Linked DNA regions of Homo sapiens: all the other regions are linked to region 2. The links are contacts of gene promoters, found by promoter capture Hi-C in blood cells and fetal thymus (Javierre and others, 2016). All regions are on one chromosome and are shown on one strand. Each heading gives the region's core, a stretch centred on a gene start or on the middle of the fragment in contact. The rest is flanking DNA. Distances are from core to core; before and after follow the strand shown. Region 1 has its middle 43 kb from the start of ADAT2. Region 2 holds the start of LINC01277 (long intergenic non-protein coding RNA 1277). Region 3 overlaps HIVEP2 (HIVEP zinc finger 2). Region 4 overlaps ADAT2 (adenosine deaminase tRNA specific 2). Region 5 has its middle 230 kb from the start of HIVEP2. Region 6 has its middle 270 kb from the start of HIVEP2. Region 7 overlaps LOC153910 (a long non-coding RNA gene).

Region 1 (3,833 bases), core at 345-2,844, 370 kb before region 2:
CCTGCCTCAGCCTCTGGGGTAGGTGGGACTACAGGCGCCACCATGTCCGGCTAATTAATTTTTTGTATTTTTAGTAGAGACGGGGTTTCACCGTGTTAGCCAGGATGGTCTCAATCTCCTGACCTCGTGATCCGCACGCCTCGGCCTCCCAAAGTGCTGGGATTACAGGCGTGAGCCACTGCACCCGGCCCTGATGTGCTGCCGTTTTATCTCTTCACTCCTACCACACGGTGGCCAGCAGTGTGCGGGAAAAAATTTAGTGCTGCTTTGTCCCAGCTGCTTGTTCAGACCACATGGTGCCTTAGTGAGCTCACAGCTCTGGCCTTGGCCTGGTGACCACCTCGATGTGACCCTCCTAAAGTAAACACTGCACACCTCAGGTCTCATGCTGCCCTGCTGATGAGTGGGCTCCTAATATGCTGAGTCATTCTCAATGCCCTTCTGCCAGTCTTGACTGCTTGCACTCCAGAGGGTTGCTTTTGGCTTGCTGGCCCTGGCTGCAATTTCTTCCTGCCAGCTTTGGCATGCCTACCAAAGGGTGTATTTCTTACTTGCCTGATGGCTGTGGTACAGCTCTGGGCCCAGAAAACCCATTAATTTTTAGTATTTATTGAGTATCTCCATCACCTCCCATGAGATCTCAGTCGCATCCTTGGAGAGGGGCCACTTCCAAATTTGTTTATTCTTTTTGTACTCTCAGCTCTAGAATATTCTTTAGGGCTGTCTTTACACCTTCATAGTTATTTCCCTGTTCATAATGAACTTCTCTATTCAAATTACTGCATGACTTGTGCCTCCTGGCTTGGATTCTTGACTGATACAAATTCCATTTTGGATTTCTTTCATCATCCCTGTTGATTTTGTCTATCTATATATCTTGAGCACATAAATCACTACTATGGTTGCCAAAAGTCAGAATTTTATAAGAAGGGTTACTCAGAAAAGAGTCACTCCTCTGCCCCCCACTATCCATTCTATCCTGCTCTCATTTTCCCATCCTTTCCAACCCAATTCTACCTATTTCTTGTATGTGACTAGGAGTCATTCCCTTCTCCTTGTATGTGACTAGGAGTCATTCCCTTCTCCTTATGTGTAACTAGTCATTAGTTTCTGGTTTATTTTTTCTCTATTTATTTTTGCACTATTGAGCAGATATGTGTATAATTTCTTATTTCCTTTTTTTCTTACACAAAAGATAGGCTTTTCTATTTTTTCACATTTTGCTTCTTTCAATTAACAGTATACCCTAGTAAGCACAGCATATCAGTTCATAGGCATCCCTTATCACTCATTTTTTATGGCTGCATAGTACTCCACTGAGTGTACTATAGTTTATTCACCTACTCTCTTAAGTATTCAAGCTCTTTCCAACCAATATCATAATAAATAACCTGTGTATATGTATTTTTGTACTTTTAGAGATGTATATTTAGGGTGGATTCCTAGAAGTAGGACTGCTTAGTTGAAAAGTAAGTGGATGAATCATTTTGTTAGTCATCACCAAATCCCCCTCTAAAAGGGTTGTGCCAATCTGTATTCCCACCAGCAATGCATGAGAGTACCTGTTTCCCTCTATTCTTGCCAACAGAATGTGTTGTCATACTTTTAAATTTTTCCTTATCTGATAGGTGAGAAATGCAATAGTTTTAACTTGCATGTCTTTAATTATGGGTTGTTTGAATATCTTCTCATAAGTTCAAATGCCATATATATGCTTTTAAATGAGTTGTCTGTTCATGTCTTTTTTTCTATTTTTCAGGTAGCTTTAATCATTTCCCTCGCTAAGAATTATTTGAATATTGAGGATATTAACCCCTTATCCATGTTATAAATTATACATATTTTTCCCTTTTGACTTTGTTTATGGTTCTCCTGCAATAAAAATGTTTTAATTATTTTATGTAGACACATTTATCAATATTTAATTTTTCTGGATTTTAAGTCCCTATATCAAGGTTAAAGAAAAATTCACCCATATTTGCTTCTTGTATTTGTACAGTTTAAATGTTTACATTTAGATCCCTGATCCATTTGGAGTTTATTCTTGTATATGGTATGCAGTACAGATTTTATCTTTTTCCAATGGCTACCGCATTGGAAATTTTCCCCACCTCTGCCCTAGCAATACCTGTTTAGGATACACCTACATTTCCATGTCTTGGGTCTCCTTGGGGACTTTTTATTCTATCCCACTGGCCTATTTTTCTATTCCTGTGGTCAGGCCCAGACTGTGTTAATAGAGGCTTTCTAGTATGTTTCAGTGTCTACCAGAGCATTTCTCTTCACAGTTGTTATTTTAATTGCTTTCCTGGCTATTCTTGCATGTTTACCTTTCCATATTCATGTTAATAACAACTCGTCCTTGATAGTTAATTTTATGTGATACCAAATTGAGGAAGCAATTCAGGGACCCAGAGATACATTCCCATTAACAATTAATAATTCAGCCAATGGGAGGTCATGCAGAGACCTGGGCCCCAGAAGAAGATTGAGGACAAAGCACCAGTAGCGCAGATTGGGGTGAAGAAAATTATAGAGGTAGGAGGCAAACCCCAGGTAAGTACCGTAACTGGAGTCACAGTTGGCTAGAACATCAAGATAAGAAGGTGAGAAGTGGTGGCCGTGCCCTGAAGAGAGGAAGGAACCATAGCCTTACACCATGGTGGGAAAGGGCCAGTAAAGATGATGTAGGAGCCCATTTGTACTAAGTCCTCAGGTGAAGTGAATTTACTTATTCATTAAGAAGAAAATATTCCCAGCCCTCTTTTCAAATAGTCAACAATATAGCTTTCAAGAGTGTTAAGTGTATTTATGCTTTACACATATCTGAAGTAAGGTTTGCTTTATTTTATCCCTAGAAAAATCTAAGTTTTTTTCTTGGAGTGTTCAATAATTTGAAACTAAAAATTTTAAAAGCATTTCAAACAGCTCCTTTACCTCCCCTGCCCACGCATTTACCAAAATAAATAAGGCCACCATGCAAGCCACTCTCTGATTTGCATGGCAGTGAGATCTGATGCAAATTCTCACATTTTAGGCCATTTCGGGGTTTGTGGAAACGGCAAAGGGTTCCTTTCTTTAAATAGTCCTGGGCATGATACCCTTGTCCAGGATATTTTGACATTACTGTTACTGCAAAGTAAACACATTTGAGGAAATAAAATGCTAATGATAAAATAAAAATTTGGGGTGGTATCAGGTTTGGTTTTTGCTGTAAGAAAACATCCCAGTCTTGAGTGGAGAGTTAGAACTTGTGGCCTGGCTGTCGGCTGTGGCTCTCACCTCACTCCCATCCTGCTCCCTGCCATAGAGGGCTGTATTGTTCCTAACCCCCCAACATCCCCTACACACATTTCACTTCTTCCTCCTTCCAACCCCCACTGCCCCACAAAGAAAGCAGGATTGGATGCCCCTTTGCACCCCTCCAAATTCTTCAAAAGCATATAAAAGGTACATGTCATGCTCAAGGGCTTTGTATGTTTAGTCTGGCACTTATACAGAATCCAGCACTGCATCTGTTCATAAACAGGTAGTGTATGATAACCCCTGGTTCATCCCACCTGGTGAGAAGATTGTGCAGGTACCACCTCACCCTTTGCTCATCCCCATGCACCATCTCATCCTGCCCCACTGCCCAGAGCAGCTGAGGTTCCCATTCTGTGTTCCAGGTCATGGACACCATTTAGTTAATGAGGATTGATAAAGACACATTAACTATTAGAGGGAACTGGAGGAAAGGGAGAGGGAATTCATAGTTACAGAGCACCAACTTTGTCCAAGGCAAAAGTGCTTTAAATACCGTGTTTCATGTAATTATCATAGCTCTCTATGAA
Region 2 (4,357 bases), core at 645-3,144:
AGCAAATGAGAATTTACAAATAATTTTTATGAATATGTTTAAGAAAATAAAGTGCAAAATTGATGAGGAAATGGACAATTTTCAGTAAAACTAACCTATAAAAAAGATTTCTTTAGGCATTCTAAATTTGAAAAAATATACTATCGTCAGTTAAGAAATCAATATATGGAGAAAACTGCAGTGGAAAGGATCAGTAGAGATAGCAGTGTGTCCAACAGCCAAGAAAGTAGGGTGGCGGGCATACAGATAGTGATGTGCATAGGGGCAAAAGAAGTCATAATGGGAAAGCCATGTGGAGGCAGCAGAGTGCCTGGTGTCCAAGGAAGCATGTATAGGGGGTACATATGGTGGCAGTTGTATGCTCAGCAGAAGAAGCACCAGGGAGGTGAAGGTAAGAGTAAGTTGGGGTGCACAGTTAACAATGTGTCTAACAGCCAGAAGGTGGAGACAGGGGCATGGAGGCAGTGGCATATCAAACAGACCAGGGTTTGGTGGGGAGAAGAGTTCAAAAGTGACAACTTGCCTGGAGATGAAATCAGGAGTGATGAGTTGGCCATGGCAGTACCTAGCATTTTTAGGAAATTAATTATGTAAAGGAGGATTGATCAAGAAAGTATCTATATTGAAGCTAATGGAAGCTGGATTTCTCTCTGTGGGAAAACAAATTTACAAATATGAAAAGGGGAAGCGAAAAAAATAACTCATTGCTATTGTTATGGTAAGAAGGAAGAAGGAAGGAAGGAAAGAGCAAAAGGAAGGAAAGAAGGAAAGAGTGAAAGGGAAGGGAGGAAAGAAACAAAAAAAATTATCAATGCAAGTGAATATGTCTGTGTACATATCCATGAATACATACATATATTTCAAAATTCTGACCATGGAGAGGACCTAGGTGCAATGACACCCCAGTAGCAATTAATAACAAGTATGTAGGTTCCAATTTCCATAACAAACAACAAGGACTCCTTGTAAAAGTGGATGATTCAAGGATGGAGGTAGAGAAATTTCAAGATAAGCCTGGAACGTTGGATAATAATGAACTGTGGTTTGAATGCTGGTATTTATCGCTGTCCATTTTCTGATTTGAAAGGCTTGGCAATTACTCTGTAGGAGAGTGTCTTTGGGAGAAGTAGTAATAGGAATATTTACAGATGATAGGACATAAAGGTTTCAACTTGCTTAACTTGCTCTCAAAATATTCAAAAAAGGTATCATATCCTTGAAAATACACATCTATCTATCTATCTATCTATCTATCTATCTATCTATCTATCTATCATCTTTACAAAAAGAGATGGAGAAAATATGAAACTATTAACTGAGGAATCTGGATGAAGAGAATGTGGGAGTTCATTCTACTGTTCTTGCAACTTTTCTGATAAAAATATTTCAAAGTAAATTATTTCAAAATTAAATTTAAAAACTCAATATATGAGTTTAACAATAGGTTGGACACTATTGAATACAAGACTTGTGAACTGGAAACATATCAATGAAAAATATACAAAGTGAAGCATGGAAGAAAAAAAGAAAGAGAAAAAATAAGAAACAAATGTAAGAGACATACAGGACAAGTATGAAAGGTCTACCATGTAAAACTGAAGTTTCAGAGGGCAAGGAGAAAGAAATAGAGCAGAAGCAATATTCAAAGGGATAATGGTTGGGAATTTTCTAAAGCAGATAAAATACATTTAACCCACTGGTTAAGAAGCTCAGCAAACCCTCAAGCAGGATAAGTATAGAGAAAACCACAATTATGCAACTCACAATAAAACTGCTGAACCAAAGACAGAGAAGATGGAAAAACCAGCCAGAAGAAAAAAGACACATTATCTACAAAAGAGCAACAATGAGACTGGCAGCTGTCTCTAATAGCAACAATAGAAGCCAGAAGATAATGGAATGCTATCTCTAGAGTACTGAAAGAAACTAAAGGCCAACGTGTGAAAAACAATCTTCAGAAATGAACGTTAAATGATGACATTTTCAAACAAACAAGCAACAAAAAGAAGCAAAAAGTAAACAAAAAACAAAAATTCACATAATTTATTGCTAGGAGTTTTACACTGAAATGCTGAAGGGATTTCTACTAGCAAAAGTAAAAATGATCTCATTTGAAAAGATGGAAATTCAAGGAGGGAATGAAGAATACTGGATGGGTAAATGTGTTGGTAACTGTAAATGAATACTGACTACACAAAATTATGTTGAATAACTGAAAGATGAAAACACAATCACTTGAAGGAGAAATGTATGGTCAAACTGCATGCAGGAAAAACTTCTATAAAAGAGTTACTTCATGCTCTGGGTTGGCAGATACAATGAGCAGGAGTGCATCAGAAGTAATCAAGAAGGTGATTAGTTGGTGTACTTCAGCAGGAGCAACCAGATGAATTGGCTTCTCTATATCCCCGTATTAGCCACAAGCTAGGCAGCAGCCTGCAGGTGGGAGCAATGCCTATGCATGTATGGATCAGTGTGCTACATACAGTAAGTACAGGATGGTACCAGTTCCTGGTGAGAGGACACAGATGAATAGAAAAGAGACTGAAATGATATACAATAAGCCAGTAACTAATGTTGCCACTAGAGATGGGGTTAGAGGAAATAGTTTTGTCTACATTATATAAATCTTTCACAATAAAAATGTATTCATGTGCTACTTGTATAATTAGAAATATATTTGAAAATGAATAATTTTGTATAGGAAATATATGTTTGACTCCATGCAATAAATACTGACATCAGCATCAAAATAAAGCATTTCTAAAAATCACCTGGAAATAAAAATAGTCTTCTAGATAACTCTTGTATCAAAGAGGAAAAAAGAATCCTGATAACATAATATAATCTTGTGAATTGTAACCAAATCTTACCTTATGAAAAATTTTGTTTAAAATAACATAAATGTATAACTCAGGAAATTAAAAAGAAGAAAATAAATCAAAAGAAAGTAAAAGAATGTAAAAGCAATGACTTAAACATGAGAAAGCCAAACATTACAATTTATTGATAAAAACAGTGATCTTGTATTTGAAAAGTTATAAAAACAAAACAAACCAATCAATCCCTAGCAAGTCTAGCCAAAGGAAACCTAAGAGAACACAAATACAATATTAGAAAACAGAAAAGGTATAACCAAAGGAAATTATAATTTTTAAATAAAATTTTTGTACTTTTCTGAGTATAAAATTTTAAAATAGATATTTTTAAGGAAACTACAAACAACCAATTTGCCTGAATAAAATATAGGAAGCCAAAATAGATCAATATCCATAGAAAAGTTGAAACTTTTGTAAAAAAAATACTGTAAAATGGCTCTGGGCCATGTTCATTTTCTCAGAAATTTTTACCAAATACTGACGAATAGTTAAGTTCTGTAGTACTTAATTGTTACAAAGCTATAGAAATCATAACTTTGATACAATAAACCTGATAAATATGTCACAAAACCATGGGCCAATCTATCTAATAAGCACAAATAAAAAGTCTGTTATGAAATATCAAATCCAACAGTATACTAAAAGAGCAATACACTTTACCTGATCAAATTTATTCAAGAGTACAAAAATTGTTCAAATTTAGGAAATATGCTAATGTAATCTTGGTAGATGCTAAAGGACATTTTATAAATGTTAACGTTACTTTTGATTAAAATTCCTGGTGTGCCAAGGGAAAAGCAGACTTTCTTAACTTGGTAACAAGTATTTTTTAGAAATCCAAAGCCAATATAATACTTAATAATGAAATACCAAAAATAATCACATTAAAGTGATAAATAAGAGGACATGGGAGCACAAGAAGAAAAACCAGGGACTCTTCCAAGATGGCCTAGTAGGAACTCCGGTCTGCAGCTCCCAGTGAGATCGATGCAGAAGATGGGTGATTTCTTCATTTCCAACTGAGGTATCTGGTTCATCTCATTGAGACTGGTTGGACAGTGGGTGCATCCCACAGAGGGCTAGCCGAAGGAGGGTGGGGCGTCGCCTCACCTGGGAAGCACAAGGTGTCAGGGGATTTCCCTTCCCTAGCCAAGGGAAGCCATGAGAGACTGTGCCAGGAGGAACAGTACGCTTCTGCCCAAATACTGCGCTTTTCCCATGGTCTTCACAACTGGCAGACCAGGAGATTCCCTCCAGTGGCTCGCTCAGTGGGTCCCATGCCCATGGAGTCCAGCAAGCTAAGATCCATTGGCTTGAAATTCTCACTGCAAGGGCAGCAGTCTGAAATTGACCTGGGACGCTGGAGTTTGGCAGGGGGAGGGGCATCCACCATTGCTGAGGCTTGAGTAGGTGGTTTTATGCTCATAGAGTAAACAAAGCTGTCGGGAAACTGGAACTGGGCGGAGCCCACTGAAGCT
Region 3 (4,171 bases), core at 491-2,990, 280 kb after region 2:
CTGAGCACAGATGGAACGCCCTTGCATGACCAATCCCTTCTCCTTGTCTGTGCCACTTCTTCAGGGGCCTCCCCCGCCACTCTCCTTCCCTCTCCTTGTCCTTATACATTACTTCTGCAGCTCATGACTTTAACAAACTAAAGCCATGGTAGAATTGTTTCAGATCCAGATTTCTAGCTACAGACCTATTCTGAAGATGGGAGTCTAAAGCCTGACTATCCTTGGAATGGAGAGAAAAATGTAGGAGAAAGAAACACATACTAAAATCTAAATAAACTATCCCGATATGCTTAGCATCTATACCTATACACATCCATAGCGTACTTGCACTCTGGCACAAGTGATGATTTTTATTAATTTGTAGATACATTTCATTAATTTTCTAGATTTAAGCATTCTTGATATGTCTATAACATTTTTGGGCTCTTTAAAAAATGGTAGATATAAGTTTTGATAAATAGGAGGAGTGGGGGCCTGGAAATATTTCTGTTTGGAATTATTCAAAACAGCATGTAAAATTTATAAGTATATAAGCAATAAGTAAATAATAAAGCAATATGAGTAAAATAATAAACAACAGTGTCCCAGTTTTAACTGTGGCTCATATATTACATGAACAGCAAGCTGAACACCCCTACCAGAGGAATAAACTGTGCTAGCAGGCTGAGTTTCCACGGAGATTTCACAGAGCCTTCTCTTAAAGTATTTGTTGGTACATTGCTAAAGCGTTGTCAAGGGCACAGATAACATTATGGCTATTTTCACTGAAGTGATGTAAAGGCGCCTTACAACTGAATTAGTTCCTGAATCTCTTTTGATAAGTTATATGGCATATAATTTATATGTATGTGTGTGTGTGTGTGTGTGTGTGTGTGTGTGTGTGTGTGTGCATTCTTCTGTAGATCCTGGGTCAACGAGGATTGGAACAATGTTTTCAAAATTTCTCACATTTCATAAAGCAGTTATACAAATTATATATATAATTTATATCCACACATGTATATACACATATAATTGTATATGCCATTATCATTATAACATATTCAGCATGAAACCTTTCTTTTTTGTTAGTGTGATAGGAGCCTGAAGATAAGTAAAGAGGGAATGTTGCTGCTCCAGAATTTTAGGAATTGCTGTCATAACTTTTGCTAACATATGCCAGACAGATAGATGCTAAATACTGGGAATAATGCTCCCTATGAGTAGTTAGCTAATTATTTGTATGGATCTTTCAGAGCACTGACAAGGTTGGCCCTCACATTAGTTTGTATGTATTTTTCTTCTGAATGGTGAAGATCCTTGGAGGTTACTCTGTACCTGATCAGTCACAGAAGGTCAGGGGCCCAGTGGGTGTGTTGAGAATATTTCATTCTGAAGTATCTCTGAGGTGTGTGGCCAGATTGCGTTTCCTGTTTCTGTGGAGTCCCAGGAGGCTGGTGTATTTGGGTAGATATGAGGTCCCTTCTCAGGCAGAAAAGCCTGGGATTTCTAGTCTTGCTTTGAGCCTACTCTTGAAAAGATGTGAGCCTGGACTTCCACATATCTTCTAGAATAAAGAATATCTGAGATTGGGCCAAAGCTCTCAGGGATTGATATCTTCAAAGACCAGATTATTCTTCTTAAGGTTGAAACAAGGGGTAGTGGGTAGAAACAAATCTGTGTTACATGATGAATTTAATAAAATTAGTTCATTTCACATTGAATTTGGAGCAGCTATCAGCAGTTATTAATTTGATAACCAATTAATTTCTCTCTTTTTTTTGCTACATTTTCAAGGAAACCTAACGAAGCATATGAAATCTAAAGCACACATGAAAAAATGCCTGGAATTGGGAGTCTCAATGACATCGGTGGATGATACAGAAACTGAGGAAGCAGGTGTGTATGTCATAAATGAGTTGACAGACCTCTTCATTATGCACAGTGGAGCTCTGTGGCTGAGGTAGTAAAATAAGTTTAGATATTTTTAAAAAGTGATCACTTTTCATTTTATTAAATACTAAATATAGAAAATAAAACTGACACATTGAATTGCTTGAAATCTACTGAGAAGAAATGCATTTCAGTTTTGACTCCGAGGGCAAAAAAGGCCTTACTTTGAAAATACTTATATTTAGAGCCTTCTATGAAGGGAATAGAATTGCACTTGCTTTGTGATAGCAAATTAGATTTTATGAGGCTTTTTGGGGAATTTGAAAAGCATTTTAATGTATTATTATTCAAGTTAAGAAGAAACCCAGTAGGAAAACAAATAAACTAGCAAACAAACATCATTAAGGTTGGCCAGACCTCCTGAGTTACATCACTTAGACATACGTTTGTACCTGAGCTTGCAGAGACAGGTTGTTGCCTTTCTTTCTCCTCTAGCATCATAATTAACATTATCCATGCTCATTTGTTGAGGGTTTTCTGTGAGTGGGATGATGTCTGAGATATAAAGTCCTACTATGGAATCTTTCTTGTAAGTTGGGGATGAAAACAAATAGATATACAAGAAGATAGAATGAACGCAGGGTCACACAGGTAAGTGCCTCATTTTATAGGAGTTCTCAGACATAACTATCTGTGGGCACTAGGGATTGGGAAAAGCGTTTAGAAAGAAATGAGGCTTAAATAAGATCCTAACCTTGATATTTGGATCTTGATCTCCATTATCTTTGTTTAATTGTTTCAGAAAATTTGGAAGATTTGCACAAAGCAGCAGAGAAGCATAGCATGTCCAGCATTTCAACTGATCATCAGTTCTCCGATGCTGAGGAATCAGATGGTGAGGATGGAGATGATAATGATGATGATGATGAAGATGAAGATGACTTTGACGACCAGGGAGATTTAACACCAAAAACAAGATCAAGAAGCACCAGTCCTCAGCCTCCTAGATTCTCCTCCTTGCCTGTGAATGTTGGCGCCGTACCCCACGGGGTTCCTTCAGATAGTTCCCTGGGACATTCTTCGTTGATCAGCTATTTGGTTACTTTGCCAAGTATTCGAGTTACTCAGCTTATGACACCCAGTGATTCATGTGAAGATACCCAGATGACAGAATACCAGAGGCTATTCCAGAGCAAAAGTACGGACTCAGAACCAGACAAAGACAGATTGGACATACCTAGTTGTATGGATGAGGAGTGCATGCTACCTTCAGAGCCAAGCTCCTCTCCCAGGGACTTCTCACCCTCAAGCCACCATTCCTCTCCAGGATATGATTCTTCACCCTGTCGAGATAATTCACCAAAGAGGTATCTGATACCCAAAGGAGATTTATCTCCCAGGAGACATTTATCACCTAGGAGAGATCTGTCACCCATGAGACATCTTTCACCAAGAAAGGAAGCTGCATTGAGAAGAGAGATGTCCCAAAGAGATGTTTCACCAAGAAGGCATTTGTCTCCAAGGAGGCCAGTGTCTCCTGGGAAAGATATCACAGCAAGAAGAGACCTCTCTCCTAGAAGAGAGAGAAGATACATGACCACAATAAGAGCGCCATCTCCCAGAAGGGCTTTATACCATAACCCACCATTGTCCATGGGACAGTATTTGCAAGCAGAGCCAATTGTATTGGGGCCTCCTGTAAGTATAATCCACTTTTCTTTCTAATACATAAGTGGAAGCACATTGGTCCTCCTGATAATGCACTGGTGTGAAGTTTAGTAGAACATGGGTATCTGTCATGGGTGGAGTGAATCTGGCTAATGAAAATAGCGGGGAGACATTTTTGTCATATGCTATTGTCAGTAACATGGCTGTGGCATTACCTAAAGTGTAGTATTGCATCAGAGCAGCAGTGCATTCCCAGTGGGAACAGGTGAGGCCTTTCTGAAGGCTTTCTAAACTTAACTAATGATAGACGTAAGCTGAAGCCTTTTTGTAAGTAAAAAAGATGAACCTTTAGAATGCCATGACTGCATGGACATACACTCACAGGGACATTTAGGCATCACTTATATAACTCATCACCAGGTAAGGATTCTGATTCAGCTGTTAACCTTGACTTTCCAAAACTTTTATTTTTAAAATTTTTATTTTATTTATTTTTTTTGAGACAGGGTCTCACTCTTTCACCCAGGCTGGAGTGCAGTGGCACGACTTTGGCTCACTACAACCTCCGCCTCCCAGGTTGAAGCGATTCTCCCATCTCAGCCTCCCGAGAAGCTGGGACTACAGGCGTGTA
Region 4 (4,261 bases), core at 785-3,284, 410 kb before region 2:
CTTTACTTGTTTATAATAGTGAAGAATTTGAATCACTTAAATGTCAAATAATAGGAGACTAGTTGGTTGAATCAGATATGTTCATAAGGAGAAATACTGTACAACCTTTACAAAATCATGTGATGAAAAAATATTACCCAATATAGGGAAAGGTTAACAATACATTTCTAAATGAAAAGGGCAGACTGCTGAACTGTATATACAGTGTAAATCTATTTGACTTTTTAAAAACTGTAAATATGTGTATGCAGGGCATAGGAAAAAACAGAAAAAACCCCCGTTGCTTCAGAATAACAGGGATTATATTTTGGGGTATTGGGATTCTTAGTGGGTTTTTTTTTTTTGATACATGAGGTTTTTTTTTTTTAATCGCTAAGTTCTCCACCTTGAACACATCTTACTTTATAATTAGGAAAAAAGAAAGATTGACTAACTATCTATACATATGTGTATAGAAAAAATGTTGCAAGTTTTCTAGAAAAAAGTCAATTGTATTTTTTTATAGTGTGCATTTTTGGGGCAATTGATATTAATATAACATTATGCTAGGCTCTGAGGGAAATTCGAAAAGAAAGCAAACACCACAGACACCATTTCAACAAATGTGGTATGATTAAGTTTTTGCTATGTGTTAGACCTTGTGCTGGGTGCATAGGCTGCAGAGGTGAGCAAGAGAAGCTTCGTAGTGCCTGGATCTAGTGCTTGCCTTCCAGGAACATACTGTTTAATTGATGAAATTAAGTCAGGCACAGATGAAAAGGTTGGTAAGTAACATGTCCAAAGACCACAAGAGACAGATATAAAGTGCTGTCAGATAACAGCTGGCAAGGTCCTTCAACACGTCCGTTGAGATAAATGATAGAATTCCTTCTAAATTTTAAGGGACCAAAAGGATGTGGGCTGGTGGAAAGGAAAGGTTGATCCAAGCAAAGATACTGTCATGTCCAAAGAAATCAAGAACTTTGTTTTGGGTTAGAAGGAGATCTATCTATCTATCTAGAACAGGGCTCCCTGACCTCAGGCTCAGGTTTAGGGGGATCTATGAACGCTGAAACTATATATAAAATATTATGTGCGTGTGCCTTTTTCAAGTGAGACAGTCCATAACTTTCATCAGTGTCTAAAAGGGGATTTCTGCTCTGAAAAGGTTAATAACCTAAATGAATAATGAAAAGTTAGGTTGGTTCGGTTGGCCAATGGGAGGGTGGGTGATAGTTGGGAGACCTTCAGTGCCATATTGAAGAATTTAAAGTTGATGGAATAAAAACATTATCACTTTTTAAATCCCCAAAGTTAAACTATATAACTGTTTCTGCTAATTACTCAGAGAGTAATCACTCAGAAGAGAGTAATTAGCAGAAACAGTTATATAGTTTAGCCTTTTGGACAGGATGATGTTCTACCTGAGAGTTCTGGCTAACTTGTTTGTTCCCCCTAATTTTTTGTCTTTATAGGAAATATTTCTTTAAGGACTCATCAAACTGTGTGCAAACAAGGTCTGTTTCCATCTCTCCCCCTTTTATCATGACATCACTAGAAAGCAGTTTATAGTAGTAATGTCTTTGGAGAAAATAATAAACTACGAAGTCTCTTCCATCTAGGTGCTTTCATTATCTGTATCTGGGCAGGCCCTGACTAGAGAAAAAAAAGAAATTATATTCAAGGACAAAATAGAGACCAGTGTTTGGGCTGGGAAGAACAGAGATTTTATTCTTTAATTTTGAAGGTTGATCATTTGTTACTTTATGAAAAACCTTGTAGCCATTTTTAAATAGTATCTGATCTTGGTCTTTCCCCCTAAAAAAGGCAAGAAAGGTTAAATTCAAAGCTACCTGCACAAATTTCAGACCCATTTTGCCTGAGCTTTTTTGCATTTGTGAAGAAGTGATCAGACTTGACAGTAGAGTTGTTGGGAGAGTTTGAAAGTATGATATGGGTATGGGGTGAAATTGATTTCCAGCTTAATTAAATCTATTGTGAACTTGTTAGTGAAGCAAATCTACATGTTAATTGTTGTAAAGGAGTTCCCCTCAACTCACTTCCATGGGGCTTTGTGTTATTCTCACCGCCCCCTCCCCTGCCTACCATTCCAGTTGCTTACCCACTCATCCTCAGCATGGCAGGCTCGGCCATTCCTCAACAATGACGTTATTTGTCCTTTTAAAATATTCCGATCGCTCATATTTGCTCTCTGTTTCGGACAGCAGTGGAAGGCATTTCAGGAAAAAAAACTGTGTTACTCAAAATAAACATGAAGATAATATTGAGAGGAGTGAAATGAAATAAATTTGCTAGACGGAAAAAGAGAAAAATCCAAAGGAAGGAATGGAAGGCACAAACCCAGTAACATGGTGGCGTGGGTGCTATCTCCAGGTGAACAAGACAGAACTTGCAGGCAACATGGAATCTCATCTCCCATCCCACTCACGTCCTTTCCACTCGGCCCTGCATTCTCTTCTGCAGGTTTGAGATGGCCCACATAGCCAATGTAGAGCTCTTCAGGAGATATTTTTACAGAAAATCCTGATCACATGGCCTCCATTTGTTTATTCTCTTGCCGTTTTTGTTTTTTTTTTTAACTTTTTTTTTTTTTAAGACAGAGTTTCACTTTGTCGCCCAGGCTGGAATGCAATGGCACAATCTGGGCTCACTGCAACCTCCGCCTCCTGGGTTCAAGCGATTCTCATGCCTCAGCCTCCCAAGTAGCTAGGATTACAGGCACCCATCACCATGCCCAGCTAATTTTTGTATTTTTAGTAGAGATGGGGTTTCACAATATTGGCCAGGCTGGTCTCAAACTCCTGACCTAAGATGATCCACCTGCCTTGGCCTCCTAAAGTGCTGGGATTACAGGCATGGGCCACTGTGCTCAGCCTATTTTTTACTTTTTTTAGAGATGGGGTCTTGCTGTGTTACCCAGGCTGGAGTGTAGTGGCATGATCATAGCTCACTACAGCCTTGAACTCCTCTTGCCATTTTTTTTATCCTTAAAATTTCCATGTCTCACTCTCTTGCCAACTGTTCTCTCTCATTTGGTCCCTTGATTCACTCTAAACTCAAACCCTGATAAAGCAGCTGATCGGTGAAGTGTCTGTTGTTACTAAAGTAGAAGTTAGAGGCAGAACAGTGGCAGAGAGCCCTGGAATCTGGCCCTTGGTAGGTGCTCCACAAATGTTTGTTGAACAAATGAATAAGTGGAGCCAGGTTGTCTATGCCCTAGTCCCAGCTCTCTCACATGCGCTAGTGAGAGATATATACATGTATAAAAAAAAATCTCCCTGTGCCTCAGTTTCCTCATCTGTAAAATGGGGAAGATCATTATAGGCTTGTAAATGAAATGAATTAATACTTATAAAATGCTTAAATTAGTCCTGGATCAAAGTAAGCTTTCAATAAATTGTAAGCTCTTATGTTCAAGCTCTCAGAACCAGAATACTCGAGATGCAGACAAAACATTACCTCTCTTAAGAGGTTTGTTGGGGAAAGTATAGCTGGAGTTAAAAATTTAACCTCTTAGATAAGTCACTGTTCAAGCTACTGGTTTTCATCTCCACCATTCCACCTAAATTGCCACCACCTTGCTGAATTAGACACACTTGACCACCCTTCCTTCTTGGCCTAGTGTTTTTCTGGGATTGTCCGTAACACCAAATATTTCTCTAAACTCACTAAACATCTCTTTTTAATTCCCATTGCAAAATCCTTTTTGTTTACCTGTACTTATTTTTTAACTTTCATTTTGAAATAATTATAAGTTCACAAGAAATTACAATAATAATATACTGGGAGGACCCAAGTGTCTAGTGTCCTTCAGTGGTAACATCTTGCATAGCTATAGTTCAGTATCAAAACCAGGAAAAATGCATTGGGAAAACTGCAGAGCTTATTAAGATGTCATCAGTTTTATTTGTACGTGTGTGTGTGTGTGTGTGTGTGTGTGTGTGTGTATGCGTGCCTATGCAATTTTGTCATGTTTAGCTTTGTATAACCACCACTGGAACTGTTTCACTACCACATGGCTCCCTTGTGCTACCTCTTTATAGCTGCAGCTTCTAATCTGTTCTCTGTCTATAATTTTATAATTCAAAAATGCTATGTACATGAATCTGTAACCATTTGGCTTGGCTTTCTCCATTCAGCATGATTCCCATGAGATCCATCCAAGTTGTTGAGATTATCGATAGTTCATTCCTTGTTATTGCTGCATTGTGTCCCATGGTACAGGTGTACCATAGTTTGTTTAGCAGTTCACCCACTGAAG
Region 5 (4,170 bases), core at 170-2,669, 330 kb after region 2:
AGGCTTTGAGGGTTGGAGCATGGCAGCCACATGCTCCTAGCACGGTTCTGTTGGTGATGTGGGTCACTCACCACTTATGTTTGCTGAGAAAGGGTGCTCTTCAAACAACAAAAAGTGATCTGACAGAGCATCACTTTAGTTGATCGGGACCCAGTAATCTTCCTTTCCCTCTCATTCTTCCTTCCTTATCTTTTGGGTTCTTTTGAGAACCCTCTGACTCAGTGGTCCTTGACCTTGGTCATATATTAAAATCATTTGGAACATTAAAAAAATACTGATGTCCAACTCTCACCTGCGGAAATTCCTAATTCTTTTCAGTTGAGTCTGGGCAGCAGTATTTTTTAAGGCCCCCCAGGTGATTCTAATCCACATCCATGATTGAGTATTGCTCCTAGTCATTCATACTGCAAACCAAATACAGATTTAAAGCTTAGGAGAATCCTTTTCAGCATGATTCTGTAGGTCCATGTATATCTGCATGAACAAAAGATTCTGATCAGTAAGACCATCCCAATTGGCTTTAGTAGCTTTCTTCACTAGAGTTTTCTTGACCAGATGCAGTTTGCATTCTGTTCAGAAGCCTTGCCACAACTCTATGAACACTTTTAACAAATATCAAATATACAAGAAGCTCTGAAATCTACTGGCTTATAAGGTGACTTGCCATCTTGATGTTTCTGATTGGAAGCTTTTTACAAGGACCATTTAGGATTCATGCTGCCTCTTTACTAGTGAAAATGTAGGCTGAAGGTTACCAAACACATCCAGAAAGAATTTCCTTTGGCTCAAGATTTCAGTCCTTTTCTTACTCTCTCATTTGCTCAAGATTTCTTGGGACTCATTATAGGATGGAACAATTCCACTCCCACATTCTCACTTGGCATTTAAATCCTAGGTTGTCATCGAGACATATCCTAATCACTAATGCATGCAACAAGCACACCAGTATTGTTTTTTTTTCCCTTTCTCCTTGTTGTGTGGTGAATAGAAAATGTACAGTTGGGGAATCAATCAACCTCAGTTCTAGTTCCAACTGTAGCTAAATAGCTATGTGACTGTGGGACAATCTTCATTTCTTCATGAGTTTCTTACTTGTAAAACAAAGGAGTTGGACTAGAATCTCTGGTTTTCAACCATTGTTGTTTTCTTTTTGTTGCTTAAAGTGAGAGTGCCCTTTCTTCAAAAACATTCTTTCTGTAAAAGTCAACATGTAAAACTGATGGTCAGAAAGCTGAATTGTTGTGGGGCTTTGGGGTCCCTGAAATCTTCTGAGTTTCCTCATTTTCTCCTCCTAAAGCTACTCTGCCCTTAAAGGGGTTCTGTAGGACCCCTAGGACAAGACAAAGAAGATCTAAAAAATACGGGCTAATTAGTTAAGGTATTTTCTGCTGTATCATTCTCCGAGTTTACATGCATCCACACATGAACATATGTGTGCACATGAACATATATCCACAGGCACACAGAGTTTGATTGATTGGGCTCAAGAGGTAGCAGATACGGTCAGACTAGGAGGGATCAGGATTTGGAAACTAGGCATATTCACTACAAAGAGAGGGGTTCTTGGAGCAGGCCCTTGGAAATGCATTGTGCCTGCTTCTAGGGACAGCAGGGAGTAAAATGCACTATGCCATCCATAGTTTGGCAACTGGCAGGTGCTCAATGGTCTGCTGGCTCAAAAACTTGTAGCAGATGACATCCCAAAGTGGTGACTTCATGACTGGAATTCTGGGATAGCATCCTGGAGAAAGATCTGTGAGGAAGCAGGCTTGAGACAGCTGGTTACTCAGGAAGTCCATGATCAATGGAAGTTCACTGCCATTGGAAGAACCATTCCTCAGGTCTCACATATCCCACACAGACTGGTAACTTCCAAGTAAGTTATACATCCTTTATAAATAGCAATGATACATAGCATGTCTCATCATCTCCCCTGGACCTTCAGGATATTTCCATGATTTTAAATGCTTATCTGAGGGACAGCTGCTTAGCTATCAATTGATACTGTTGTCTCAAAAAAGATTTCATAGGATTTTCTTTACCCCATAAGAATGCCCATTCCCAATTCAGAGGGGATTTCAAAAAATAAGGAAATGACTTGGGGTTAGACATCCATTTCCTTAACACAGACATATTTAACTTTAAGCTTGCTGAATCTTAGATATTGGTCTAATATGTCTGGGATCCTCCTAACTCCAAGTGAAGAGGCCTAAAATTTCTCTATTTTTACTGGAAAAAAAGAGAGAGTTTGACTTTCAATGCCATACTTTTTTTTTTCTTCTTTTTTTTGAGACAAAGTCTTGCTCTGTTGCCCAGGCTGGAGTGCAGTGGTGTGATCTCGGCTCACTGCTACCTCTGCCTCCCAGGTCCCGGTTCAAGCAATTCTCCTTCCTCAGCCTCCCAAGTAGCTGGGATTACAGGCACATGCCACCATGCCCAGCTAATTTTTGTATTTTTAGTAGAGACAGCATTTCTCCATGTTGGCCAGGCTGGTCTTGAACTCCTGAACTCGTGATCCACCCTACACGGCCTCCCAAAGTGCTGGGATTACAGGCGTGAGGCACCGCGCCTGGCCCACCATACTCTTAAATAAAATCAAAAGCCATCTCGAGACTATTTCTTTTGGAACCTTCCTATGCATCAGGCTGCATAGTCTGCAGAGTGATCCGTGCCATTCACGTGATGAAACCATTGATAACTGGCGTTATTCAAATAAGTGAGATATCAGTCAACACTGTTTAATATGGTGTTTAGCACCCTTAAAAACAATTAAACCCAATGGATTTCAGGCCAAAACAACAGTCTTGGAAGATCACTTTAGTTAGGGCCCAAATAACTGAATTGAAGTCAAGAAAAGGCTGGCCTGCCAAGAAGTAACAGGTGATTATGTAGGAATACGATTTGAAGGGCTCTGACCTTCCAGTGGCAACACTGTGTGAGTTTGTTTTCTGTACCCAGGGGACCGAGTGTCAGGATCCTCACTGTTGAGTGCTGGATAGAATGGGGGTGGCAGGGAGTGTACCATTATTTTGGTATGCTCTCTCTTAGTAGTTGTAAAGGGGAGATGGTAGTTAATGACTTCCTACTGGGATATTGGTTGCATTAGGCTTCCATCAGCCATTGTGGAAACACTAAATGGGGTGTGAATGAGGTAGGTAGGCTAATGAGGGGGATGAATAAGATACATGGTAGTGCTGCACAGGGCAGAAGACGAACTTGGGTTAAGCTCAGGCTAATTTCTAGCAATTGTCTTGACCCTTAGTCTTAATAATTTGATGAAGGACATCCTTGTGCTGAATGTTGGTAAAGAGACAAAGGAAATGGCAGAGGCCAGGTGCAGTAGCTCACACCTATAATCCCAGCACTTCGGGAGGCCGTGGCAGGAAGGTTGCTGGAGCCCAGGAGTTTGAGACCAGCCTGGGGCAACAGGGCAAGACCCCATCTCTACAAAAAAATTTTTAAAAAAGCTCAACATCACTGATTATTGGAAAAATGAAAATCAAAACCATAATGAGATACCATCTCACACCAGTCAAAAAGGCTATTATTAAAAGGTCAAAAAATAAGAGATGCCAGCAAGTTTGTAGAGAAAAAGGAATGCTTATACACTGTTGGTAGGGGTGTAAATTAGTACAATCATTGTAGAAGACAGTGTGGCATTTCCTCAAAGACCTAAAAACAGAAATATCATTCAACCGAGCAATCCCTATTACTGGGTATATACCCAAAGGAATATAAATCATTCGATTGTAAAGACACATGGATGCATATGCTTACTGCAGCCCTATTCACAATAGGAAAGACATGGAATCAATCCAAGTGCCTGTCAATGATAGACTGCATAAAGAAAATGTGATACATATACACCACGGAATACTATACAGCCATAAAAAGAATGAGATCATGTCCTTTGCAGGGACATGGATGGAGCTGGAGGCCATTATCCTTAGCAAACTAATGCAGGAACAGAAAACCAAATACTGCATGTTCTCACTTATAAGTGGAATCTAAATAATGAGAACACATGGACACATAGAGTGGAACAACACACACTGGGGCCTATTGGAGGGTGGAAAGTGGGATGAGGGAGAGAATCAGGAAAAATAACTAATGGATACTGTGTTTAATGCCTGGGTGATGAAATAATCTGTACAATAAACCCTTATGAGA
Region 6 (3,987 bases), core at 542-3,041, 360 kb after region 2:
CCTAGGACCACAAGGAACTTTGCTTGACTGGGAAGGTGGGAATGAAACCCCAAATAATGATCATGATTGGATTTTTCATAAAGAAAAAGAAAGAAAAGAAAAAAAAAGAAAAGGAAACTTGTAATAAATTAAGAAAAGAAATAAATGTGACATTTATTGCACTCTAATTTTTGTGGACTAAATTTCATATGCACTATAGAAGCATTACTTTGGCTAAAGAAAATGCATTGTTAAATAGATAGATATAGCTGGAAGAAATTTACAACCTAATGTCCATGATCAAGCACCTCGAGAGATGGGCAACCAGGAAGGCACACAGCTCACCTTCAATGATCCCTGCCTGAGTTTTCAGGACATGCTTTTCATCTTCCCATAAAAGTCCATATTGACAGATTCTGCAGCTCTATCTTGCTCCCGTCCTTGCCTTAAGAACTTGGATTGGAACCTGTTAGCACATAAGGTTGAAATCATTTACTAAATATTTTTCCAAAGAGAAGAAAGAAGCACTTAGTTTTGGTAGGAGAAAAAAATCAGGCCCTCTTCCCAGGTGGGTCTTGTTGTGTTAGATGCAGACACAGAGGCCCAAGGTCACACCAAGGAATTATTCAAGGTCAGCAAGATGGTATGCTATGCCTGACAAAGGGCCAAGTTCATAAAAAGGAGAGGCAGGCAGGAAGTACTTTACTTATGTCACCATTCATCGTAGGAGCTGTGCTGCCCAGAGTGAAGGGTGTAAAGAAGCTGAAACCATGCTCCCTGAGATGCTGGATAGTCTGTCTCCAATAGTTAGTAACATTGAAAGGGGGCAACTAAACAGCCTAAGCAGGCTTACCAAGGTTACACTTGCTAGGGACAAAAATCTCATCCCCAATTTTTACAACAATGACTCTTTCCAAATCGTAACATCAAGGAAGGTGTGATTAGTTAGCAAAATTTCATATCGTGGAAGAGATTCTTCAGTGCAATCGCTTCATTATATGGGAAATCTAAAAGAAGAAAGGAACAATAGCAAGAGCTTTAGTTTTCTATAAAGGAAAAGATAAATCCACCTGTTTAGTGAACCTTTGATAAGCACTCAGCTTTCTCACCAGCTGAACACTGATGGAAACGGGGAATGTGTCTTTCTCTCTATCCCTCCCTGTGTCCTATTCATCCTTCCCAGCCCAGTCACCTTTCCCTATCTTCTTTCTCTTTCTCTCTCCCTTTCTTCTTCCCCTCTTATTTCATCATTCTTTTCTCTTTTATATCATTTTTCTCTCTCTCTGTGGATAACCTCACCTTATTCAGAATTTCAGCCAGCTGAGATGATAAATGAATTGCTTGATCAACTGATGCATAGATGAGAACGTGTGAAACCAAGTCAGAAAAGAGAGAAATGCAAGGAATCAAGTTAGATATCACATTTGTGCCTTGGAGTCCTCTGCATTCTCAGTGGGGATTGCCTCTTGACTCTGAGCTTTCCAAAGGCCAATGTAAAGCAGGAAGCGGGAAACAGGACTGTGTCACCAGGCAAGAATAAATCAGTGGCTTGTCTAGTGAGCACTACATGCAGGAGCACATCTACTGTGGGCACTGAGACCGGAAAGAAATTGCATTTTGGTGTTTTCAACATTGAGTCTTTTCCAGAAAAATCTTGTTAGGTTTTGAAGAGGAAACAATTATGGCGCTGACTCCACGTGGTCTCTTAACAGAGGGGACAGAATTCCTTATTCACCAAGTCCCAGTACTTTCCAGGTTCTCCTGGCATGGAGATTAGTATGAAGTTGCTTGTGGGGTTGCAGGTAGAACTACAATAGACTGTAGCTGTCTGCTAAATTTCACAGAGCTGTTTGCTTCTCTATGGCAGTCAATATGTAAAGGAATGCCAGGACTTATTTGGATATGAAACAGTCATCTTGAAAAGATTCAGGTGTTGAATTTTGAAGAAATAATGCTCTAATTCTCAACATGTCACTTAATACTTTAAGAAAGGTAATATTAACTTGCAGCATGTGATTCCAAGCAGAGCGGAGCCTTGGAGTGTCTGCTGCTTTCCTAACCATTCTTAAATTAAGGCTCTGCAATCTGTTACATAAATCTCTATTTTCTTATTTTAGGTTCAGCCAGCATTTTGCTAGTGAATAAATCAGACATCCCAGATGTCATTTCTCCCTGACTAGATATAAATCACAACCAAAAGGCTCGCTGGGTTTGCCAAAATTGCTTCACATGTCAACGGAATCTAATGTAATTGCCCCAGGTTTCATCCTCCCTCCCCGTGTAAGGAATAAAGAGATCATTCGCCATCAGTAGGGGATCAAAGAAAATTCAAGCCCCTCATTGAGCAATGAAACCCTCCCCCTGAGTTTTTATAGTCTGTAAATGGATGGGATGCATCCCTTGCTCAGAGGACATGGAGAAGCTCCTGGCGTTGATGCTTTTCACATGAGAGATGTCATAACTGAGACATTGAAAAAGATCAACTGCTTCACAGGACTAGATGAAGAAGTGGAGCTTGTCCTTATCGCTCGATTTCTTTATTCGCTGAATTAGCCAGAGAAGACTACTGCTGTCAGAAATCACCCCACACCTCAGCGGCTTCACACAGAGTTGTATTTCTGACATCACTCATCCAATGTGGGGCTCTGTTGCCCTCAGTTATTCAGAAGTCTGAGAGAAATGCAAGAAATCAAGTTAGATATCACATTTGTGCCCAACGGCTCCACCATGCCCCAGCGCCTCCTGAGAGAGCTGCCCTTGATCTGCTGCTGGGTGGCCCTGGGAGAGGCAGAGCATGTGCAGGTTTGTGCAGGGAGTTTTACGGGTGAGGCCTGAAGTGGTGAGCACCACTTGTGCCCACGTTCCGCACAGCCCAGAACTCAGTCTCATGGCCACTGCTAACTGCCAGGCATGGGTGGCAAATGTGGCTTATTCCTGAGCTCAGAAGGAGAAATGAGTTTGTAGACACCTGGCCAGCTCCATCACAGATGCCAGACTCCTTCCCTTTCCTTCTCCTTCCCCTTCTACACTTTTTCTGCTTCCTAGAGTTTACTCAGTTTTAGGGCTCCGGTGAGAAGCCGCCATTTTCTACCCCTTTCCGAAGGTCCCTTAGTTGTCTGGGAGCCAGGACTTTGCACTGGAATAGCTAACTCTGTGTTGGACAGGTAGTCTGGAAGAATATTTAGAAATAGTACTTTTCAAATGTTTAATCATTAAGCATTAAAGTGTGGGAAGGAATAATGTATGGCTGACACGTGTATTATTTTCCACAGAAAAATGGCAAAGTTTCTGACATGGTCTTTGCCATGTCAATATTTCATGGAAGTGAAGTATTTCCAAAATGAATTTAGCCAAATATTTTCAGCAGACATAAATATATGGAGGAAGCTCTATGTAGTCTAATTTATTATTTAGCAAGAGACATAAAGTGTATGATGAACAATAAACAGTAATATTTTAAGTTCAAAGTTCCTACTTTAAAAATGATTTTGCTACTTCATGAAGAATGTATTTCAACTTTCTGTCTTTACCTACCCTTGGTGATCAAAGGCACCTGGCTGATTATTATTCAAAAAGAGAAAATTAGAAATTTAAATTTTAGAAAGAAAGATATGTCCACCTCCTCTATCACTAATGCCTACCTCAGTCATTCATTTTTCTGTTATTACGGGGGAGGAAGAGGGAAGCTAAGTGGTGTTAACTTCCACATGGGTTAAATGCATCACTTTGATGTTTTTCATTAACAGTATTTTATTCAGTAGATTATATAAGACGTAAGTAAGTTTTTACAATTGGGCATCTTGTCTGTGTTTTTGCCCTCATGAGAATTTTAGTGAAGAAGTCAATGCATTTGTAAAAGACTGTTAAAGGAGACAGGAGGAATTAAGGAGGGATAACACATAAATTAGGGAAACATTGGCTTTAAGCACAGAATACAATTTCATGCAAATATAGTTCAGATAGTTCTTCCTGGGGCACATTTTTGATTTTTATCTTAGTTTTTTTTTT
Region 7 (3,756 bases), core at 133-2,632, 420 kb after region 2:
AAATAAAAGAGCAGTTCTTTGTCTCAGCTGGAAACAAATGATTAGGATATAGGATGCCTTTTCCAAAGAGAGGAGCTTTTCAAAGAGCACATTGTCATTATTTTGGGAGAATCATTCTGAAGAGACAATATTTGCTCTTTTTTCTTTTCACTTTCAATGCTATTAACATAAATTTGAAAAGATTTTGATAGGCATTCACATCTCCTATGAGGTAGCATATGAACCTGGATACAATTTAGTTTCCAGAACAGTTTGGAGCATTAGCCTTGTGTATCAGCTTGTTAGGGCTGCCACAATAAAGCACATACCAAAAACTTAGTGACAGTCTTAAACAACAGAAATTTTTTCTCTTAGTTCTGGAGGCTGGAAGTCTGAGGCCAAGGTGTCAGTAGGGTTGGTTCCTTCTGAGGGCTGGGTGGGGAATCTGTCCCATGCCTATCCCTTACTTTTAGTGGTTTGCTGGCAATCTTTGGCATTCTTTGTTACGAACAAGCCTTACCCTGATCTCTGCCTTCATCCTCACATAGCATTCTCCCTGAACACGTGTCTGTGCCCCCAACATCCCCTTTTTATAAGAAACATCCCCTTTTTATATAACCTGTCATATAAGGTTAGGGTCGAACCTAATAAGCTTGTTTTAACTTGTTTACCTCTGTAAAAACCTTATCTCCAAATAAGGTCACATTCTCCGGTACAGGAATTAGGACTTTAATATATCTTTTGAGGGGATACAAGTTCTTGGAAATATTAAACTTGGCCAGGATAAGGAATCAAAATCTTCCAGTCTCCATCTGTCTCTCTGGCTTACTATTGAATTCTTCAGTGGAGGCCAGCCTGTAGAGGCCTCATGAGGCTGACACTGAAGTTCTCCTGGTGACAAAGATTAGAGAAAGTTGTGTCCTTCTACTCCAAGACATTGGTCGCCTGAACAGAAGGTCATGCCCCTTTCATCCCACCACACCGTAGTTTCAGACACATGTGTATGTGTGTATGTGTGTGTATTCAAAAGGAGTCAGAAGGACTTGGAAATGTTGCAGCAACTTCTCCCCAGAGTACAGTAGACTTGTGTGGACACCAAATACCACTCCTATCACATGGTTTGATTAGGTTATCTGACAGACCATGTAACAGTCCCTGAAACTTGGAGGGCATTCAGGAGTTTTTTGTTAAATAAATAAAACTAATGAGAGGGAGCTCTGTTTCTTACATACTTTCTCCAACTTTTTACTTCCTTATCTTTTTTCACTGGAGTCTAGACCATGAGTAGAGGGTGGGGATGTATTTATATGTTTAGTTCCTGGTCCACTGTCAGTGGGGTCTACCATTATCCCCATCCCTTGTACTCACAACTCACATGCTTTCCATAAAGAAGGTTGATGCTTGCAGTGCACAGCCAAGTTTACTTGATATAGACCGTCTAGCTTTTTCCTACCCTTAGAAATTGCTTGGACTTAGAGCAATGATTATGCAAGTGTGTGTCTGTGATCTACCTGTGACTGAGGTTGACAATCTCCTTTCTATCTCACTATTTTGCTGCCTAAGCCTTTTTGCTGACTTTGGGTGGCAGGACAGGTTCTTCACCAAACCCCACTTTTAGACATCTATTCCAAATTGAAGAATGAAGTCAGCATGTTATTTTTCAACTTAGTTTGACTTCATGAATGGGAAATAGTTTGAAGGCTTTTTATATGCTAATCTTAGTCTAAATTGAAAAACTGTTCACAAGTTTTATTCATTTACTCATTCATTTACATGTATGTATTTGCATATTCTCTTCACTATATCCATTTAAACACAAATATATTTATACTTCTTATAAGTGAAGATTAGACACCAAGATGAAGAAGGCAAAATACAGTTTCCTAGGTTCGGGGAACATCCAGGCAAAAATATTTTTCAGGATGTTGCAAGTATGGGTCTGGAGTTCAGGAAAGATATTTGAGACTCAATTCTCTCAAGATGATGGCTTGACTCTTGATATTAAATGAGATTACCAGGGAGAGAGTGAAGACAGAAGAGCAAAGAAAAGGGACAAGAGATAAATCATTATGTTAGGCCAAAAGAGACAAAATTATTCAACTTATTCCTGATTTGGTACTTTGATGTCCCTTTCTGGAATTTAAACAAGCTTGACTTAGTGTTAAAATTAAACCACAGTCCTATCTCTTATAAATTTTGTAAGTTTGTAAATCCCTGAGAAACTTCTACTCACCATGACTGACATCCTCATAGCCTAAGCTGGTTATGTCTTGAGAGCCAGGGCTAAAAATAAAGGCTAAAACTTATGTAGTACTTTGTCTTGTACTAGACATTAAACTGAACAATATTTACATGTGTAATATCATTTAATCTTCAAACTAATGCTATAAATCTATCAATTATCTCCATTTTACATATAAATACCAGGAATGATGAGGTTAATTTGTCTAACATTAAATAACTGAAAACTGGCAGAGTGCAGGTTCACACCCTCAGCATCTCATGTGAGAACGTGTGCTCTTAACTATTGCTCAGAATGGCCTCCCATGCCTGTGTCCTGAAGGTTAAGGCAGAGTCTCATTCACTTTTCTAATCTCCTGCTCAGACATTATAGAAACCAATGAAAAATAGTTATTATTCAATAACTATTATACAATGGCACAGACTTTAATTTGAAAGGGTTAAAGTGAAGATTTTTTAATATAAAAAGGAGGATAGGCCGGGTGTGGTGGCTCATGCCTGTAATCCTAGCACTTTGGGAGGTCGAGGCGGGCGGATCACGAGGTCAGCTGATCGAGACCATCCTGGCTAACACGGTGAAAACCCGTCTCTACTAAAAATACAAAAAACTAGCCGGGCGTGGTGGCGGGCGCCTGTAGTCCCAGCTACTCCGGAGGCTGAGGCAGGAGAATGGCGTGAACCTGGGAGGCGGAGCTTGCAGTGAGCCGAGATCGCGCCATTGCACTCCAGCCTGGGCGACAGAGCGAGACTCCGTCTCAAAAAAAAAAAAAAGGAGGACAACAAAGTAAGCACAGACCCCTGGGTAAACTAGCATTCAGGTCTTAAGAAAAGTCAGGTGAAATAACCTAGTAAGTCAGTAAGTTAGGGCTGTGAAAAGGTGCTCAGATTGTCTTTTCCTTTTCGTATTAATAACAGCTATCCCAGACCTTTACCTCATCAAAGGTCACAACTCCATCCCTGTCCCCATCACCCTTACAACTCCATCCCTGTCCCCATCACCCTTACCGTGAACCCACAGCAGGGGAAATCACAGAGTCATTCATGGGAAATGCAGGCTGCCAGTGTATGATGTTTTCAGCTTTCCCCATACTCACCTTCCTTAGGGCTTATCTAGATGGTTATCCATCCTTCTGACCTTCCTATTTTAACATGTTATTTATTTATTTATTTATTTATTTGAGACAGGGTTACACTGTGTCACCCAGGCTGGAGTGCAGCAGCATGAACACTGCAGCTTCAACCTTCTGGGCTCAAGTGATTCTCCCCGCTTAGCCTCCCCAGTGGCTGGTACCACAGGCGTGTGTCACCACACCCAGCTAAGTTTTTTATTTTTTGTAGAGACAGGGTCTTGCCATGTTGCTCAGGCTGGTCTCGAACTCCTGGGCTCAAGTGATCCTCCTGCCTTGGCCTCTCAAAGTGCTAAGACTACAGGCATGAGCCATCAAACTCTGCCAGGTTTCCCACTTTTTTCCAAGGAAGAAATGTACCTGTCCATTTCCAAGGCTTACCCTTAATACAAATTGCATATAAGACTAT

What was found. Contacts are between HindIII fragments. The CHiCAGO score rates a contact against its expected background, and 5 or more counts as called.
Region 1: a contact is called between a fragment that was not itself captured here and the fragment with the promoter of LINC01277 in region 2, in 3 of 17 cell types (M2 macrophages, megakaryocytes and total B cells). The highest score is 5.7, in M2 macrophages.
Region 3: a contact is called between a fragment that was not itself captured here and the fragment with the promoter of LINC01277 in region 2, in 3 of 17 cell types (total B cells, naive B cells and monocytes). The highest score is 7.0, in total B cells.
Region 4: a contact is called between a fragment that was not itself captured here and the fragment with the promoter of LINC01277 in region 2, in 1 of 17 cell types (total B cells). The highest score is 5.4, in total B cells.
Region 5: a contact is called between a fragment that was not itself captured here and the fragment with the promoter of LINC01277 in region 2, in 11 of 17 cell types (total B cells, naive B cells, activated CD4 T cells and 8 more). The highest score is 8.6, in total B cells.
Region 6: a contact is called between a fragment that was not itself captured here and the fragment with the promoter of LINC01277 in region 2, in 16 of 17 cell types (naive B cells, neutrophils, total CD8 T cells and 13 more). The highest score is 13.5, in naive B cells.
Region 7: a contact is called between a fragment that was not itself captured here and the fragment with the promoter of LINC01277 in region 2, in 1 of 17 cell types (endothelial precursors). The highest score is 5.2, in endothelial precursors.

The regions. Positions count from the first base shown.
Region 1 is chr6:143,406,032-143,409,864 of GRCh38, reverse strand. No RefSeq gene overlaps it. Among named protein-coding and RNA genes, the nearest start is that of ADAT2, 43 kb to the left of the region's middle. The HindIII fragment of the contact is 7,946 bases long and covers 1-3,833 here.
Region 2 is chr6:143,035,119-143,039,475 of GRCh38, reverse strand. It overlaps LINC01277 (long intergenic non-protein coding RNA 1277), which reads left to right and starts at 1,894. Exons shown (of 3, transcript NR_038987.1): 1 at 1,894-2,487. RefSeq lists an enhancer at 4,349-4,357. The HindIII fragment of the contact is 5,129 bases long and covers 1-4,357 here.
Region 3 is chr6:142,759,171-142,763,341 of GRCh38, reverse strand. HIVEP2 (HIVEP zinc finger 2) reads left to right here. Exons shown (of 10, transcript NM_006734.4): 8 at 1,777-1,878; 9 at 2,675-3,570. Among named protein-coding and RNA genes, the nearest start is that of HIVEP2, 180 kb to the left of the region's middle. RefSeq lists an enhancer at 1,448-1,497. The HindIII fragment of the contact is 9,901 bases long and covers 1-4,171 here.
Region 4 is chr6:143,442,163-143,446,423 of GRCh38, reverse strand. All of the region lies in intron 1 of ADAT2 (adenosine deaminase tRNA specific 2), which reads left to right. Among named protein-coding and RNA genes, the nearest start is that of ADAT2, 6.4 kb to the left of the region's middle. The HindIII fragment of the contact is 2,708 bases long and covers 681-3,388 here.
Region 5 is chr6:142,709,121-142,713,290 of GRCh38, reverse strand. No RefSeq gene overlaps it. Among named protein-coding and RNA genes, the nearest start is that of HIVEP2, 230 kb to the left of the region's middle. The HindIII fragment of the contact is 1,458 bases long and covers 691-2,148 here.
Region 6 is chr6:142,674,510-142,678,496 of GRCh38, reverse strand. No RefSeq gene overlaps it. Among named protein-coding and RNA genes, the nearest start is that of HIVEP2, 270 kb to the left of the region's middle. The HindIII fragment of the contact is 4,934 bases long and covers 1-3,987 here.
Region 7 is chr6:142,619,349-142,623,104 of GRCh38, reverse strand. All of the region lies in intron 1 of LOC153910 (a long non-coding RNA gene), which reads left to right. Among named protein-coding and RNA genes, the nearest start is that of ADGRG6, 320 kb to the right of the region's middle. The HindIII fragment of the contact is 1,497 bases long and covers 634-2,130 here.